Linked DNA regions of Homo sapiens: regions 1, 2 and 4 are each linked to region 3. The links are contacts of gene promoters, found by promoter capture Hi-C in blood cells and fetal thymus (Javierre and others, 2016). All regions are on one chromosome and are shown on one strand. Each heading gives the region's core, a stretch centred on a gene start or on the middle of the fragment in contact. The rest is flanking DNA. Distances are from core to core; before and after follow the strand shown. Region 1 overlaps KCNN4 (potassium calcium-activated channel subfamily N member 4). Region 2 overlaps SMG9 (SMG9 nonsense mediated mRNA decay factor). Region 3 holds the start of ETHE1 (ETHE1 persulfide dioxygenase). Region 4 holds the start of IRGC (immunity related GTPase cinema).

Region 1 (2,742 bases), core at 119-2,618, 240 kb after region 3:
ACTCGCAGCCTGATCTTCCCCTCAAGAGGAGGGAAGCAAGAATGAATCAGCCTCTCAAGCTGGAATGAAGTTGCGGCGGGAAGTCAGTCCTCGGTTTGTGGCCCAAGGCCACTCTGCCTCTGACTCACCTTGCAGTGGGGCGGGATGGGTGTGAATCTGGGCTCTCCAGCCCGTATTCCTAGCTTCCGGCTGGGGGCCTGAGGGGAGGCCTGGCTCCTCTTGAAACCTCGGTTTCTACATCTGTGCAGTGGGGTAACGAGGGTCAGGAGAGTGGTTATGGTGACTTATAAACAGAGCTGGGCACACAGTAGGGCCTCTGGAAGTGCCAGCCCCCCTCCTTTGCCCCCTTCCCTTTCACATCCTCTCTTGAGCGGATGTGAAACGGGTATGTGGGTGGTTTGGGGAGGTTTGGGGCCTCTGTTAGTCTCTTGATGAGTGAGTTGTCATCTAGATTCTGGTAAGGCATGAATAGAGGGAGAAAAGCAACAAAAAATCAGAAAAAGGGCAGCCACGCATTGTGTGTGAAAATCAAAAACAATAATAAAAATGATTCTTGGCCAGGGACAGTGGCTCACGCTTGTAATCCCAGCACTTTGGGAGGCTGAGGCGGGCAGATTGCTTGAGCCCAGGAGTTCAAGACCAGCATCTGCAACATAGTGAAACCCCATCTCTACTAAAAATACAAAAATTAGCCAGGCGTGGTGGCAGGTGCCTGTAATCCCAGCTACTTGGGGACTAAGGCAGGAGAATCGCTTGAACTCTGGAGGCGGAGGTTGCAGTGAGCCGAAATCGCGCCACTGTACTCCAGCCTGGGTGACAGAGCAAGACTCCATCTCAAAAAAAAAAAAAAAAGATTCTCTCTCACATATTTGGTTCCTACTAAATGCCTCTGGGCTACTCCATGTTTTAATCTTCACAGCAGTTCCATGGGGAGGCAGTCCCATTTCACAGGTGAGGTAAACTGTTCAGAGGTGAAGCCACTTACCCAAGATCACACCACCAGTGGATGGTAGAACCAGGATTTGGACCCTGATCTGTCTGAGTTCAAAGCTGTTGCTCTTTGCCTCAGATCTGGGCAGGGGACTGTTGCTGAGGACTGCCCAGCCTACAGAGTTGGGAGGGCACTTACAGGAGAAGGCCTCTGAGACAGGTTCAGACAAGGCAACAGTCTTCCACTGGACGGTCTGCCAGTTAGGAGTGTAGATATGTTTAGAGAGAAATGGCAACTTCTGGCTTTAACATTTATTACAAAGATAAGAGCAGAGGCTGGTGAGTTACACTTCTTCCTCCCCACCAGGTGCTCTCTGCAGCTCTGGAAAAATGGTGTCCTCTTTGTTGTCCCACCAGGGGGCGCCACCTCCAGCCCCGCCCCAGCCTCATACCCAGTTCTTCAGCTCGGCCAGCGGTAACTGAAGCCTCCCAGAATCCTGGATCCGGGCCCCTAGTACCCTCTTTCCCAGGGACCCAGGAGTCCTGCCTCCAGTCGCCTGCACTTGTAACTGAGAGCTGGAGGTCGTCCATAGCAGCATAGTGAGAGTGTTTTTGATGAGGGTATGCAGAGTGGGGGTGACCATGTTCCCACCTGGGGCCTCAGGTGGGCCAAGGCCTACCCACTTTAGCCAGCGTCCCCTCCAGCAGCCATCAGCAAGCCAACCCACTCCAAGCCAGGGCCCCCTTTGGTCCTTGCACTTGAGGTGCTTTGTTCAGGGCTGGGTCAGGAGTGGCAGAGACGATGTCCACCACCTCAGTACTGGGGAAAGTAGCCTGGTTCCTCCTCGTGGGTCCTGGAGAGACAGAGAGACTGATGGAGAGGCAGGCCAGGAAGAGGGAGAGTGAGAGTGGGACACACCGAGGTGCAGACAGAAACCGGTGGGCAGAAGTGGGAGACAGGGGGCAGGTGTTTCCGGGCCCCGAGGCCAGGGGGCAGGAGGGCATTTAGACAGAGACATTGGATGGACAGCCAGACAATGTGCCCAGGACAGGCAGAGAGAGAGAGAGAGACCAAGCAAAGAGGGAGAAGGCCATCAAGGGTCAGTGAAGGGGAGAGGGTACACCATCTTCCTTCACTGCCAGTCCAGCCCCGAACTGAGTCCTTTCCTCCAGACAGTGCCAGAGCTGATGAGAAAAGGCGGCCTTGTCTCCCAGCCATCCCCCGCCCCCTTAGCCACATAGGGTGCTGGCCACAGGAACCCTTCCTCCAGGATGCCTTCCTGCCCAAGTCCCAGCCCCCTCACCAGCTACTTGGACTGCTGGCTGGGTTCTGGAAGCTGCCTCGGCCCCAGGGCAGTGCTAAGCAGCTCAGTCAGGGCATCCAGCTTCCCCGCCAGCGTGTCAATCTGTTTCTCCAGGGCCCGGTGTGAGCTGCTCAGATTCTGCTGCAGGTCATACAGGATCATGTGCATCTGGGTGGGAGGAGAGGATCAGAGGTGTCGGGGCTGGGGTCGACCCCCACCTACTCCATAGCGTAAGGCAATGGAACCAATATTGACCACATCCTTATGGTCCTCTGAGGATTACCCTCGACAATAACTGTTACCATGTATTGACCACCTACCACTTCCCAGCTACCTGCCCAGGTGTTTCCCTATATGGTTTAAAATCCTCCCAAAAGCCACAGGGAGTGGGAATCCTGTTCCTGTCTTACAGCTGAGGAAACAGGCATGGAACAGTTAAATGACATGCCCAAAGCAGCTCCTGAAATAAGACCTAGAACATAGCAGGTGCTCATTAGATATTTCTAGC
Region 2 (2,708 bases), core at 38-2,537, 220 kb after region 3:
TGCATATTTACTGGTTGAGCACCCCAAATCCATTTGCAAGGCTCCAATAAACATTTCCCTTAAATGTCACGTTGGTGCTCAAAACATTTGGAATTTTGGAGCACTTCGGATATTCAGTCTATACCTGGGATGAACGCTGTGAGGGTAGAGAGAAGACACACAGATATAACCAGGCGGCAGAATGTAAAGCACTGGTGCCTGACTAGCACAGAGGAAGCAGGGGAGAGGCGAGAGAGGCATTCAGGATAAGGCCCAATGGGCTGTCACTGATATGGGAGAAAAAAATGGGAAGAGGAAAAATGGCAGAAAGATGCCGAGGTCAGCACGGGACACAGAGGATAAGAAGCCCATGGGTGTGACAAGAGGCTGCCAGGGCTCAGTAGCACATTTAGAGACAAAGATGAGGTTTAGGAGGTGCTTGTTCAAGGATTAAACCTGAAGGTGTGGCGGGATAACATTCCCCAGGAGGGCATTATGTGGAAGGAAGAGAGACTACGTGTTCTCATTTACACTGTGGCCCAAGAGAAGGAGCAAGTAAGAGCCCAGCTCACTGTGAAAAAACTATTCTTCATGTTTGTACAGTTTTATAGCTCAGAAGCTGGCCCCAGTTGTCACCTACTTCCACCCTACCTGACATCTCTGAGGTGGACAGGGCCCTAGAGAAAAAAGCCCAGGGGGCAGGTTCTGGCAGTGAGTCACCTAGGTACAGGAGGGGAGCGAGGCTGGGCCTGGGCACAAGCCGATCCCTCCTGATTCCCAGCCCAGGGCGCTCTCTACAGCAGGCAGAGCGATGCTATATGTGAGACTAAGCTGGACCTGGATCTGAGTCCTGGACCCAAAGTTTATTGACTCTGATTTTGGAAAAGTCCCTTCACCTCTGGGGCTCATTTTCCTCATTAGTGAAAATCAGATCTATCATAGAATCTACCTCATGGGGTAGCTGTAAGGGTTCAGGAAGACCCAAAGGATGTAAAAGACTTTGCACAGTGCAAGCACAGTATAGGCTGCTCAGTAAAAAGAGTAACAGTTGTTGTTATTATGACATGACCCTTTAAAACATGAGCTATGGCACCTCTCAGCTCAAACTCTCCAATGCCAATTTCACTCAGTGAAATACAAAGTTCTTTCCAAGGCCTACCAGGTCCTACATGATTTGGCCCCAGTTACTTGACTTCATCTCCTATCTCTCTCCCTCCTTCCTCATCAATTGCAGCCATCCTGGCCTCCTATGGCTACTCCTTGAACACGCCAGATATGGGCCACCTCAGGGCCTCTGCGCTTGCTGTTCTTTCTGTCTGGAATGCTCTTCATCTCAGATGCTGGCATGGCTTATTCTCTCATCTCCTTCAAGTCTCTGCTAAAAAGTCACCTCTTCAGAGAGACCTTCTCTGACCATGTTATCTAGAACAGTCTCCTTTATCACTCTCCACCTTCTTTATCCATGAGGGTGGTAGGTTTTGTTTACAAATATATCCCCGGCATCTGGATTAGTGCCTGGCACATGGCAGGTGCGTGGAACCAAATAGATACATGAATGCTGCTCCTGGGTCCAGACACTCACCCTTCTCTCTCTTTCCCATGGTGCAATGTAGTCCCTCTCCCGACCACCAGGCCCAGAGAGATTCTGGGGGCCACCAGAGCCAGGCTCCTTCCACCGTCGCCGCCGCTCTATCCCATAGAGTCCAGGCTGACTGTGTCCAGACTCAGACATGGTTACCTATGGAGGGAATGAGGGGATTTCAGGATGACAGAGTCTCTTCCTACTCTACTTGGCATATCCTAGACTATACGAAGTCCCTTCTTTCTTTTTTTTGGAGATGGAGTCTCTCTGTCGCCCAGGCTGGAGTACAGTGGCCTGATCTTGGCTCACTGCAACCTCTGCCTCCTGAGTTCAAGCAATTCTTCTGCCTCAGCCTCCCAAGTAGCTGGGATTACAGGCACCCACCACCATGCCTGGCTAATTTTTATATTTTTAGTAGAGATGGGGTTTCACCATGTTGGCCAGGCTGGTCTCGAACTCCTGACCTCAGGTGATGCACCTACCTTGGCCTCCCAAAGTGCTGGGATTACAGATGTGAGCCACTGTGCCCAACCAAGGCTCTTCCTTTCTTCTTTTTTTTGAGACAGAGTTTCGCTCTTGTCACCGAGGCTGGAGTGCAATGGCGTAATCTCGGCTCACTGCAGCCTCCACCTCACAGATTCAAGCAATTCTCCTGCCTCAGTCTCCTGAGAAGCTGGGATTACAGATGCCCACCACCACACCCGACTAATTTTTTTTGTATTTTTAGTAGAGATGGGGTTTCACCATGTTGGCCAGGCTGGTCTCAAACTCCTGACCTCAGGCAATCCACCTGCCTCAGCCTCCCAAAGGGCTGGGATTATAGGCGTGAGCCACCATGCCCGGCCAAGGCCCTTCCTTTCAACAGAGCTCTGGGCCTGTGGTAGCAACTGCAAGCTGGTTCCCAACATCCACTCCTGACTTCTTCCAAAAAAGTAAAACCCTCAGTTCTGAGCTAGGTACATGGCTATCCAGAACAAACTTCTCATCCTTGTTTGCAGTTAGGTGTGGCCATGTGAGTAAGTACTTTCTGGCTATGGTATGACACTAGAAGTGTGGCTTGGCAGCTTCCAGAAACTTCCCTTCACAGACTCTGGCACATGCCTTCTGCCCCTTCCTCCCAGTGACAGGAATGTGGGTGTGGAGGTTG
Region 3 (2,727 bases), core at 1-2,500:
AAGGAAACTCCTTAAATGCTGTTGACTTAGGAGTTCCGCCAGTGCCCCACCTGCCCAGAGCCTCTTGCCCCAGTGCCCCACCTGGGTTTATGGTGCCCCCCTCCCAGAAATATGAGCTCAGGGGTCAGAAACCCAGGTCCTGAGGTCCCTCCTCCCCAAGGACTCAGGATCCCAGGCCCCCAGTCCCCTCTTCCCTTAAGTTTAAGAAGTCCAGGCCACCACCCTCTTGGGGACCCAGCACCCAACTCACGAAGCGCCCGAAGCGGATGGAGTCTCCATCCTCAATGTGTAAGTCAGCCTGGGCCCCACTAAGGCGGGAGATGACAGACTGGCAGCCAGGGAGGAGGGAACGGAGCAGCCCCGAGCCTGTAATGTGGTCCGCGTGGCAGTGGGTATTCACTGGGAGAGAGAGGAGGGACAGGTCCGGAGGGTACAGAAAGGACCTGGGAGTCCCAGCCCAGATCCTTCTCCCTCAGACTCAGGAGTTCTGGGCCCCAGCTTCCCATTCCACTGACGCTGCAGCCCAGCCCCGCTGGGATCCATGAGTTTGGTCCCCGGACTGACCAGCATAGAGCAGCCGCAGCCCCAGCTCCTTGATCAGCTGGGCATCCCGAGGCGCTGTTTCCAGGACTGGGTCGATCAGAACGGCCTCCCGGGACTCTCTGTCACCCAGCAGGTACGTGAAGGTGCAGCTCACAGGCTCGAACATCTGGGAACGGGGGACCCAGGTGAGGGCGCAGAACCGGACTTCCACCCACTGGAGGCCAAGTAGTCCAGACTGACCCTATCCTCTTCCTAAGATCCAGAAGCAGAAACCCCAGCCCACTCTTTCCCCGGGAGTCGGGAGTCCGGAGCCCCACTACCTTCCCCTATCAGAACAAAAGAGTTCCAACTTCCTAACATCCCAAAATCAGGGTCCCCAGCACGTTCTTTCATAGAGGACCCAGGGGTCTGGCCCCAAGCCCAGAGGCCCCCAGACCACTCACCTTTAAAGGACCCAAGAGTCCAGCCCTAAACCTCCACCCCGCTTTCCGCAAGATGCAGGCGTGGGTCCCCCCGGATCTCTCCCTATTAAGAGACCCCGGAGTTCCGTCCTTGCTGCCGCCTAGTGCCCAGCAGTCCCCTCCTAGGTCCAGCCACCCGCACCTGCCGCAGGAGGATGGGGGCTCCAGACCCGCCGCGCTGGCTCAGCTGCCGCCGGGCGACCCTCAGTACAGCCTCCGCCATCGCGCCCACTGCGGGGTCAGGAATGAGCGGAGGCCGAGCGCCTGCAGGAGCCGGGCGCTACGGCACTGACCCCGGGAAGGGCGGGGCGGGGGCGGAGCACGCCTTAAAGGGGCCACGGACGCCTGGGGCAGAGGGCGGGGGACCGCCGAGCGGGACTGGGGCGAGGGCGAGACCGAGGAAAGCCAGAGTGCAATGCCTGGACGCTTTGAGACCCAGAAAAAACAGAGAACAGGGAGACACTCAAAGTGCGAGGGACAGACGCTCAGAGACACACAGACATACTCATGTAGGAACAGAGATAGGGAGAGAAGTAGAAACCCAGGGAGAGGCCCCAGTACACTCATAGCCTCGGGGCCGTTTTTTTTCCTTTTTCTTTTGTTTTATTTTGAGACAGAGTCTCGCTCTGTCACGCAGGCTTGAGTGCAGTGACTCGATCTCAGCTTACTACAGCCTTAAACTCCCGGGTTCAAGCGATCCTCCAACCTCAGCCTCCCGAGTAGCTGGGACTATGGCACGTTGCCACCACACCCGACATTTTATATATATATATTTATATCTATATATATATTTATATACATATATATATATACACACACACACACACATACATGTATATAAAATTTGTTTTTTGCAGAGACGGAGTTCTCACTATGTTGCCCAGGCTGATCTCGAACTCCTGAGCTCAAGCGTTCCTCCCACCTTGTCCTCCCAAAGTGCTGGGATTACAGACGTGAGCCACCGCGTCCCGTGGGGCCGTTTTCTAGCAGGTGGTAGGATAGTCATGGTTAGAAAAAGATGTTCGGTTCCGGGAGGCAGAGGTTGCAGTGAGTAGAGATGACGCCACTGCACTCCAGCCTGGGCGACAGAGGGAGACTCTGTCTCAAAAAAAAAAGATATTCGTTCGGTTCCAGGTCATTAATATCTTGAGGGACTTTTGAGTGGGTGCCTGGTTACCAGAACAACACTTGATCCCATTAAAGTTCATCCAGAAATTGCATAAGCATTTTATCAGGAATGTTTCTCTCTTTCCAGGAAGAAATCTTAAAAAAAAAAAAAAAGATAATTTTGCATTATCTCTTGAATAATCAGATTGGGGATTATTCATCTTCTGTTGGGGTGTGAACCTCTGAAAAGAGCTTGTGTTCATTTACACCAAGGACCTGGGGCTGAAAAACTGTAGTCTCAAGTCATGAGCTGTCAGAAAGTCTGCTCTTTGTAATCGTAGCAGTAGTGAGAATAGGACATCCCACTCTCATCTGGAGGATCTATGTCACTTTGTGACATCAGAGCAGCCTTGATTTCCAGCCTAGGGGCAGAGCTTTTTTTTTTTTTTTTAATTGTTAGAATTTTTTTTGTAGAAACAGGGGTCTTGCTATGTTGCCTAGGCTGGTCTCCAGCTCCTGGCCTCAAATGGTCCTCCCACCTGGGCCTCCCAAAATGCTGGGATTACAGGTATGAACCACTGAGTTATCCTGTCCCACAGCTTCTGAGGAGGGGTTT
Region 4 (3,067 bases), core at 70-2,569, 190 kb after region 3:
CCATGTTGTTCACTCTCTTCAGCTCTGTGTGTTTGTGTCAGTCAGTGAGAGCATGAGTGAGTCGTGTGTCTTTTGCCCTGCACCTCCCTTTCACCTGTGGCTTAAGAACTCTGTACTATGCGGCCAACAGCCCACTCTTCCCCAGCTCTCAGGGTGGCTCTGAGCTAGTCTATTCCCCTTCTGGGCCTCTCTCTCCTTAGTTGTTCTCAGAGGCTCCTTTCCAGAACTGGCCTGCAGATGGTCAGGAAAATCCTCTGAGTAGCGTTATTGTAAATTCCCTACAAGAGGAGAATGGAGAAGGCCCTGTGGAGCCTGGCCTGGGCAGAGAGGAAGCCCGGAGGGGAGACAGGACAGAGACACTTATAAAGGACAAGAAGGGGCCGGGTGTAGTGGCTACACCTGTAATCTTAGCGCTTTGGGAGGCGGCATAACCTGAGGTCAGGAGGTTTGGGAGGCGAGGCAGGCGGATAACCTGAGGTCAGGAGTTCAAGACCAGCCTAGGCAACATGGTGAAACCCCACCTCTACTAAAAAAAAAAAAAAAAAAAAAAAATTAGCCAAGCCTGGTGGTGCATGCTAGTAGTCCCAGCTACTCAGGAGGCTGAAGCAGGAGAATCACTTGAACCCAGGAGGCGGAGGTTGCAGTGAGCCAAGATTGTGTCACTGCACTCCAGCCTGGGTGACAGAGCAAGACACTGTTTCAAAAAAAGAAAAAAAAGAAATCAATGACTAAATTATTGGGCTTACAAGATAGCAGATCAGCCTCCCGAGTAGCTGGGACTACATGCATGCACCACATCTGGCTAATTTTTGTATTTTTAGTAGAGATGGAGTTTCACCACATTGCCCAGGCTGATCTCAAACTCCTGGCCTCAAGTGATGCACTCGCCTCGGCCTCCCAAAGTGCTGGCATTACAGGCGTGAGCCACTGTGCCCACCAGCAATGACCGAATTTGTATCATCAACTTTCACACTTCTCTGGGGAACTGACAGTCCCCTGGGTGGAGGGTGGAGTGGTAGCAGGGCCAAGCCCTTGGAAACCAATCTGTGAATCTGAGACTTTGTCCTTGGGGGGTGATGGAGACCATGGAGGATTTTGAACAGGTCTTGGTGTTAGAAAGATCTCTCTGGAGTCTTCAGGGGAACTGGAGGGCCCAGTGTGAGTGGGTGGTGACCCCATGAGCAGCTGGGGCTTGGGGTCCCTGCTCCACCTCCGGGCCCCACCCCCTGACATCACTGTCGCATTATTGCACCAGGTCTGGCTGACCAATAAGCTGCTGCTTGCTATGATAATGGGTCCTAGCAACGGTGTCTGACCTTGGCTAAGAGGGAAGGAGATCCTATCAGTGGGGAGAGTGTGAGGGGAGAGGGAGAGCCTGCAGGGCAGGTGAGTCCCCCAGGGCTCTCTCGCTGGGCCCCTGTGCGTGGGCGGAGCAGGAGCTTATGGTCTAATCCGGACCCCCTCAGCCCAAATTCCAACCACTGACTTGTCTGCCCCTTGCTGCCAGGACCTGTTCCAGGTTCCTACTCTTCCCACCGCAGACCATACTAGGGAGAGGGCACACCCAGGATAGGAGGCTCAGATCTGGAGGCAACAATGTCTTTTTTTTTTCCTTTTTTTTTTTCTGAGACGGAGTCTCGCTCTGTCGCCCAGGCTGGAGTGCAGTGGTGCAATCTTGGCTCACTGCAACCTCCGCCTCCTGGGTTCAAGAGCTGGGACTACAGGCATGCGCCACAACACCTGGCTAATTTTTGTATTTTTAGTGGAGATGGAGTTTCACCATGTTGGCCAGGCTGGTCTCGAACTCCTGACCTCAAGTGATCCACCCACCTCGGCCTCCCAAAGTGCTAGGATTACAGGCGTGAGCCACCATGCCCAGCCGGGAACAATGTCTTAAGGACATATTTCTGTGGGGGGTGGAGTGGGGTAGCAGAGGATGGGGTGAGTGGTAGGAGGTGAAGAGACGGGGTGCAGGGGGCAAGGAGACAATGCAGGAGGCAGGGACATGCAGCTGAAGGGAGAGTAGCTCTCTAGGTGGGTGAAGGAGCCTGGGGACCTGGGTTGGGGTCCTGGCTATGCCTCTGGATGAGGAGACCTCATTTGTCTTGTCTGAGCCTCAGTCCTTCTCCCTGTCAAATGGGGACAGTGATCCCAGACATGAGCAGCTCTCCCAGGGCACCCTGAAGACCCTTAGTGAGTAAATGTATTTTAGAGATGATGGGCCAGAGGAGGGTGAGTGGGAAGAGGGAGGACCAGGGAAGCTCCTGGTGAGGAGGAGGGATCTGAGGGGGGACCATCACGACAGGAGCTCTGGGCGGTGGGAGGGGAACTGAACCCCGGGAGGCAAGGGCTGCCATGGCAGGGGTGGGGTTTCATGGAAATGACTCCTGGTGTCCAGGTGGTCCCCATGTCTGGCTTCCCGAACCCAAGGGCGTCTGAACCCAAAGTCAGCCTAGGGCTAGCTGAACGGGGTTTGTGGGCATCACAGCAGCCCTGCGAGGTGGGGAGGAGTATCCCCCACGGGGCAGCTGAGGCTCAGACAGGGCGAGGACTTGCTCAAAGTCACACAGCTAAGAATATTACTAATGATAAGAATAATGACGATGATGGTGATGCCAATGACACGAGGCACCTGCCCTGAGCCAGGCGCCGTTTTATGGGCTGCTTTATGTCATAACTCATTCAAGTCACAGAGATCCTAGGAGGTGGTTTGCCAGGATTGTAGGTATCATTCTCAGTGTTCAGATGAGGAGAGTGAGGAGAGAGTTAAGTAACTTGCCTCACATCACTCAGTAAGTATGTGGTGGAGCCAGGATTTGATCCCAGGCAGTCTGGCTCCGGGTCTGGGTCCCCTCCACCCTACCCTCCAATCCCAGCCACCGCAGGAGTGCAGCTGTTTCCTCTGAATGGGCCTGTACCACCCTTTCCTATGCAGCCCTGGCTATGTAATTTGCCCTGGCTATATAATTTGCAAGGCCCAGTACGAAATGAAAATATGGGGCCCCTGGTTCAAATATTATAAAGAATTTCAGGCCAGGCATAGTGGCTCATGCCCTTAATCCCAGCG

What was found. The method cuts DNA at HindIII sites, captures the fragments that hold promoters and counts their contacts. A CHiCAGO score of 5 or more calls a contact.
Region 1: a fragment that was not itself captured here is called in contact with the fragment with the promoter of ETHE1 in region 3 in 1 of 17 cell types (monocytes); the score reaches 5.0 in monocytes.
Region 2: a contact is called between a fragment that was not itself captured here and the fragment with the promoter of ETHE1 in region 3, in 5 of 17 cell types (activated CD4 T cells, total CD8 T cells, fetal thymus and 2 more). The highest score is 7.0, in activated CD4 T cells.
Region 4: a contact is called between the fragment with the promoter of IRGC here and the fragment with the promoter of ETHE1 in region 3, in 11 of 17 cell types (total B cells, monocytes, total CD4 T cells and 8 more). The highest score is 11.3, in total B cells.

What each region holds. Positions count from the first base shown.
Region 1 is chr19:43,765,306-43,768,047 of GRCh38, forward strand. KCNN4 (potassium calcium-activated channel subfamily N member 4) reads right to left here. Exons shown (of 9, transcript NM_002250.3): 8 at 2,235-2,402; 9 at 1,228-1,784. The coding sequence ends at 2,238. Among named protein-coding and RNA genes, the nearest start is that of SMG9, 12 kb to the left of the region's middle. RefSeq lists enhancers at 1-44, 475-564 and a silencer at 951-1,114. The HindIII fragment of the contact is 8,185 bases long and covers 1-2,742 here.
Region 2 is chr19:43,749,031-43,751,738 of GRCh38, forward strand. SMG9 (SMG9 nonsense mediated mRNA decay factor) reads right to left here. Exons shown (of 14, transcript NM_019108.4): 2 at 1,562-1,717. The coding sequence starts at 1,711. Among named protein-coding and RNA genes, the nearest start is that of SMG9, 4.6 kb to the right of the region's middle. The HindIII fragment of the contact is 8,040 bases long and covers 1-2,708 here.
Region 3 is chr19:43,525,951-43,528,677 of GRCh38, forward strand. It overlaps ETHE1 (ETHE1 persulfide dioxygenase), which reads right to left and starts at 1,251. Exons shown (of 7, transcript NM_014297.5): 1 at 1,147-1,251; 2 at 565-709; 3 at 251-399. The coding sequence starts at 1,227. RefSeq lists enhancers at 1-402, 403-907, 423-602 and a silencer at 1,213-1,402. The HindIII fragment of the contact is 10,435 bases long and covers 1-2,727 here.
Region 4 is chr19:43,714,757-43,717,823 of GRCh38, forward strand. IRGC (immunity related GTPase cinema) reads left to right here and starts at 1,320. Exons shown (of 2, transcript NM_019612.4): 1 at 1,320-1,386. RefSeq lists an enhancer at 1,293-1,793. The HindIII fragment of the contact is 15,065 bases long and covers 1-3,067 here.